2 separate regions of the Homo sapiens genome follow, and region 2 is linked to region 1. Evidence: promoter capture Hi-C in human tissues and cell types (Jung and others, 2019). All regions are on one chromosome and are shown on one strand. The core of a region is centred on a gene start or on the middle of the fragment in contact, and the rest is flanking DNA. Distances in the headings are between cores, read along the strand shown. Region 1 holds the start of ZNF317 (zinc finger protein 317). Region 2 has its middle 15 kb from the start of ZNF426-DT.

Region 1 (2,842 bases), core at 232-2,731:
GCCGAGATTGTCATTGCACTCCAGTCTGGGCTACAAGGGTGAGACTCCATCTCAAAAAGGAAAAAACAACAACAACAACAAAAAACACTTTATTGAAAGGCATTAAAGAAGATGTAAATAAATGATGTAAATCAATTAACTGCAACTCAATGGCATAAAAACGACAATATTCCCAAAGTTCAAATATAGATTCACCACAACTTGAAAACAAAAGTCCAGTATGTGGAATTTGGTGAACTGACTAGAATTTAAGCCATGACATTCCTGAAAAAGAATGGCTAGGTGTAAGTACTTCATCTACAAGATATTTAGAAATCTCTAAATTACAAAGGTGTGCTTGAATCAATACAGAAAAAGATTGTTTCCAAAAATACTGAAGCGCCTGAGTTCATTCACAAATAATTACCAAAATTTAGGAAATATATTTTCTGGAAAAGATGTATACGCAGTCAAATCCACGGAGACAGTATTGGTGGGAGAGGAGGATGCAGTTTAGAAGAGGCACACAGCTTTCTGAGATTTAATAATCTCTTTCTTGGCCTGGTTTGTAAATTCGCTTTACTGTTGTCCTTTTAAGTGTGTGTAAGTCTGCGTGTGTGTGTAATCATACTTTTTTTGCATGTATGTCCTATTTTCCAGTGTTAAAATATGTGCATAGGAAAGGACACACCACAAAATAAGACGGTAAAATTCAATGGAAAATATTAATAATCACGATAAGTATAACTGGACTAACTCAAGTTAATTAACAAAATGTTGAACTGAATAGTAAATATACATATAGGCTATTTACAAGAGTCCACTAAAATTAAAATAAATAAAAAAGTGCAACCAGAAGGTCTTAAATTAAAAATATAAAAGGTACTCAAGGTAAGTGCTAATAAGAACACCAATGTGCTGACATTCACGAGATAAAATTGACTACAGCGCAGAAAGAAGGTGATTTCTCCTCGCGATGTCCAAATCCTGACGCCCCCCAATCTCCTGAACTGCCCCCAAACTCTTGAATTCACTTCAGCCGGGCTTTTCCGCCCCCACCAGAGACTTAGGGCTTTTCAGGATCAGGTGACCAATGCTTCTCTCATCACTAGCTGCAATGGTCCAATTTTATCCTTCGCGTCCCCAGCTTTTCATATCGCTGATCGCGAGATCTAAACGCACCCCTCGTCTGGATGCCTAGCTCTTTAGCCCCCGACCCTCGTACCCTCTTAGTCCTCACCGCCAGATAGGCCTCCCGTGACCCCTGGAACTGAGGGGGAGAAGGGTTAAGGAAAGCAGGGCTTACACGACTGGGAATAGGATCGGGGGAGCGGAGGTGACGGAAGCCGCCGCCGATGCGAAGAGAAGTTCATACGGGAGGTCCAGTCTGGCGTGGGGACACGAGGGGTCCCCAACAGGCCGAAAGAATTCGCCGCTGACCCCTCCTTGGCCCATGTGTCTCGGGGCAATCGACTCCAGAGAGTAATGGCTTCCGCTTCACTGCCGCCTTCCAATTCTCGCGGGACTTCATTGGCGGCGTCTAATACGGAAGCGGGGCGGAGAGGATGCTGGGAATTGTAGTTTTGAAGTTTGGATTGGCATGGCGGCCGTGCCCCGGTGGAATCTGACGGTCCAGCATATTTCTCCAATTTCTACTCAAGACTCAAATTTTCAACCACAACCCACAGCATTTTGTAGCCATCGTAGTGGTAAAGGTTGAATCAGGCAAGAATTGTCATCTACATGACACAACTGGGGGACATTTGCATGACGAGCAGAATATTTGAATTGCCTTAAATGCCTCTCTATAAACTGCTCGTATGTTGGAATGGAGAAAAAGTAATAGAAATTGTACAGCGAAGAAATTGGACAACATCTGGACCAGGTGATCAAATCAATATCACCAGTGAGGGTCAGATGGAGACCACGTGCCTCTGAATGACACCTTGGGAAGGGCGTAAAATCACCATCACCTGTGTGGTGTTCATCCTGCATATCTGCTATTTTGTATTTTTTGACCCACATCTTCCCATTTTCTTCCCCAACTGCCTCATTCTTTATTTCTGTGTATTTGAGCTGTCTCTCTTGATTAAAAAAAGTTCCTCATGTAAGTGACGTCATGCAATATTTTTCTTTTTGTGTCTGGCTTATTTCACTTAGCGTAATGTCCTCCAGGTCCACCCATCTTGTGATAAATGTCAGGACCTCCTTCTATTTCAAGGTTGAATAATATTCCGTTATATATATTATATGTTTTATACAATGGAATATATATTATATCATATTTATTATAATTATGTATTATGTGTATTATTACCGTATATTATATAATATATGCTAAAATAATATATGTATGTATGTTATATATATTATGGAATATATATTATATATAATATATATTATTTTAGCAGGAGGAGTCTGCATATACAAAATTCCAGAATCAGGCTGGGTACAGTGGCTCACACCTGTAATCTCAACACTTTAGGAAACCAAGGCTTCCCATGTAACCAGTAGGGGCAGAATTATATAGGCAGGAGAGACAGATGGTTAGTATTATCCAGGGCAGGTATTATAAAAGACAGAGAGAAGGAAATTTGAGGTTTTGGAAAATATATTATTGAGGGGATGGACCATGGTGCGTATATATATATATACACACACATATAAAATGTATGTATGGAATATATATGGATATAAGATATTCATATATAATATATAATCTATATTACATAACGTAATATATATTTCATAATACATAATATATACACCATAATATATAGCATATATACATATAATAATACATATAATATATAATATGTATTTCATATAGTATATTATATACATATATTACATATAATATATT
Region 2 (2,823 bases), core at 81-2,580, 410 kb before region 1:
TGATTCTGTACTCTCGGCTTTTCTTGATGTACCTAAATTTTTACACTCATAGCCTTGGACATATTCCTAACTAAATCCAAGCACACTTTTCATCACGTTCAACTTCCAGGTTATTTTTATTTTTATTTTATTTTTTGAGATGGATTCTTGCTCTGTCACCCAGGCTGGAGTTCAGTGGCGCAATCTCAGCTCTCTGCAACCTCTGTCTCCTGGGTTCAAGTGATTCTCTGCCTCAGCCTCCTTGGTAGCTGGGTCTACAGGTGTGTGCCACCACCCCTGGCTAATTTTTGTGTTTTTTAGTAGAGAAAGAGTTTCACCATGTTGGCCAGGCTGGTCTCGAACTCCTGACCCAAGTGATCCACCCGCCTCGGCTTCCCAAGTGCTGGGATTACAGGTGTGAGCCACCATGCCTGGCCAACTTCCAGGTTATCTAAATGCACTTTGCATAAGGAGAAATAATCACACTGTAGAAGGTTTTTCTTTACCTTTTTGGTAGCTGGTCTAAGAAAGGTTTTACAAGAAATTATCGAGATAATTTCCTGTATTGCCTTTATTAAGTTTTTTATCACTTAAAAAAAAAAACCTGGTTGGTTGGGCATGGTGTTTCATGCCTGAATCCCAGCACTTTGAGAGGCTGAGGTGGGAGGATCACTTGAGTTCAGGAGTTCGATACCAGCCTGGGCAACATGATGAAAGCCCATCTCTTAAAAAAAAAAAAAAAAAAAAAGACACACATACAAAAATTAGCTGGGTGTGGTAACGTGTGCCTGTAGTCTCAACTACTGGGGAGGCTGAGGTGGGAAGATCACTTAGGCCTGGGAGATCAATGCTGCAGTGAACTTTTGTGCTGCTGCACTCCAGCCTGGGCCACTGAGTGAGACGCTGTCCCCCATCTACCCCTGAAATAAATAAAAAGAATCAACAAAAAACTCTGGGCTTTAAAAGGATTCATTTTTTCCTAGTAACTCTATTTACTCCTACTAATGACTTTTGATTATCACTGTATTTACATGGATTACTAACAAGTGAGCTGTTATCCTGTTTCAATCAAATGTTTTGAGCCTTCTAACATCTTTGACAAACTTCCCCAAATGCAAATTCTTTTTATTTTATTTTATTTATTTTTTTTGAGACAGAGACTCGCTCTGTCTCCCAGGCTGGAGTGCAATGGCATAATCTTGGCTCATTGCAACTTCTACTTCCTGAGTTCAAGTGATTCTCCTGCCTCAGCCTCCCGAGTAGCTGGGATTACAGGTGTGCGCTAAGATGCCTGGCTAATTTTTGTATTATTAGTAGAGGTGGGGTTTCACCATGTTGGCCAGTTTGGTCTCGAACTCCCGACCTCAGTTGATCCTCCTGCCTCAGCCTCCCAAAGTGCTGAGATTACAGGTATGAGCCACCACGCCTGGGCTTCTTTTTTATTTTTTTGAGACGGAGTCATGCGCTGTTGCTGAGGCTGGAGTGCAATGTCATGATCTCAGCTCACAGCAACCTCCACCTCCCAGGTTCAAGCAATTCTCCTACCTCAGCCTCCTGAGTAGCTGGGATTACAGGCACCCACCACCATGCCCAGCTAATTTTTGTATTTTTTGTAGAGATGGGATTTAATCATGTTGGTCAGGCTGGTCTCGAACTCCTGACCTCAGTTGATCTACCTGCTTCAGCCTCCCAAAGTGCTGGGATTACAGGCATGAGCCACCACGCCTGGCCTGTTTTTATGACTTTTATTCAAAAGATTGTTCTTTACGCAAATGTTTTGTTTTTTTCAGAATTAAGAAACTGTTCTATCTTAACTTACCTCTAATATACCTCTGTTTGATAAAGTATATTTTTTGAGCCAGGCTCTCACTCCATCACCCAGGCTGGAGTGCAGTCATGCTGCTGTAGGACAAGCAAGCTTCAAATTGGGACTTAGCCAATGAGGGTTTTTGGCCTTGGCCAGGAAATAATTCAGGGTGAGCTGGTGGTAGAAGAAAGAAGCTTTATCGAAGAAGCAGTGTTTCAGCTCTGGTGGTGGTACAGCTTTGTGACTACTCCTATGGGAAACCTCATAGGCAGTGTGCTGAGAGTAGCAGCTCAGGGCAGTTTTGCGGTCATATTTATACCTACTTTTAATTACATGTAGATTAAGGGGCAGTTTATGCAGAAATTTGTAGGAAAATGGTGGTAACTTTGGTCATCGGGTCATTGCCATGGAAAGGGGTGGAAACTCCTGGGTGTTGCCATGGCAATGTTAAACTGACATGGCTCACTGGTAGGCGTGTCTTATGGAAAGCTGCTTCTGCCCCATCCCTGTTTTAGCTAGTCCTCAATTTTGTCCAGGTCTGAGCCCCACCTCTGGAGTCAAATTATTCCTCCTACCTCAGTGTGATCACTGCTCACTGCAGCTTCAGCCTGCTGGGCTCAGGCAGTCCTCCTACCTCAGCCTCCTGAGTAGCTAGAACTATAGACATGCACCACTGTGCCTGGCTAATGTTTAATGCCTGCCCCAGCTGCCTGGCTTCTCCCTGCTGTCCACGCCCCCTCCTATCTTGGAGCAAAGTCAGGCCAAGCCGGGTCACCATGAACAGCAGGATAGACATGAGAGAGTCCCAGGGGGAAAGGGGTAGGTCCCTGGTAAGGTTCCTCCTTCTGGCCAGGGACGGCCTGAAGGCTGGTGGCTGGGCTGCCAGTCCCATGAACTGGAATGGTAATTGGTGCCTTTTCCAGGCCCGCCCATGGCCACCCATGGGCCAATTGGCATGCACTTCCTGCCCTCTGAGGCTCACTAAATGTCCCTGGCTCAGCCAGAGCTGAGCAGACAGTGCCACTAGCAGAAGAGAG

Evidence for each region. Contacts are between HindIII fragments. The study calls those that stand out against the background at their distance.
Region 2: a contact is called between a fragment that was not itself captured here and the fragment with the promoter of ZNF317 in region 1, in 1 of the 25 tissues and cell types used here (spleen).

What each region holds. Positions count from the first base shown.
Region 1 is chr19:9,139,036-9,141,877 of GRCh38, reverse strand. It overlaps ZNF317 (zinc finger protein 317), which reads right to left and starts at 1,481. Exons shown (of 7, transcript NM_020933.5): 1 at 1,286-1,481. RefSeq lists enhancers at 1,459-1,668, 1,719-1,818. The HindIII fragment of the contact is 13,678 bases long and covers 1-2,842 here.
Region 2 is chr19:9,552,511-9,555,333 of GRCh38, reverse strand. No RefSeq gene overlaps it. Among named protein-coding and RNA genes, the nearest start is that of ZNF426-DT, 15 kb to the right of the region's middle. The HindIII fragment of the contact is 5,877 bases long and covers 1-2,823 here.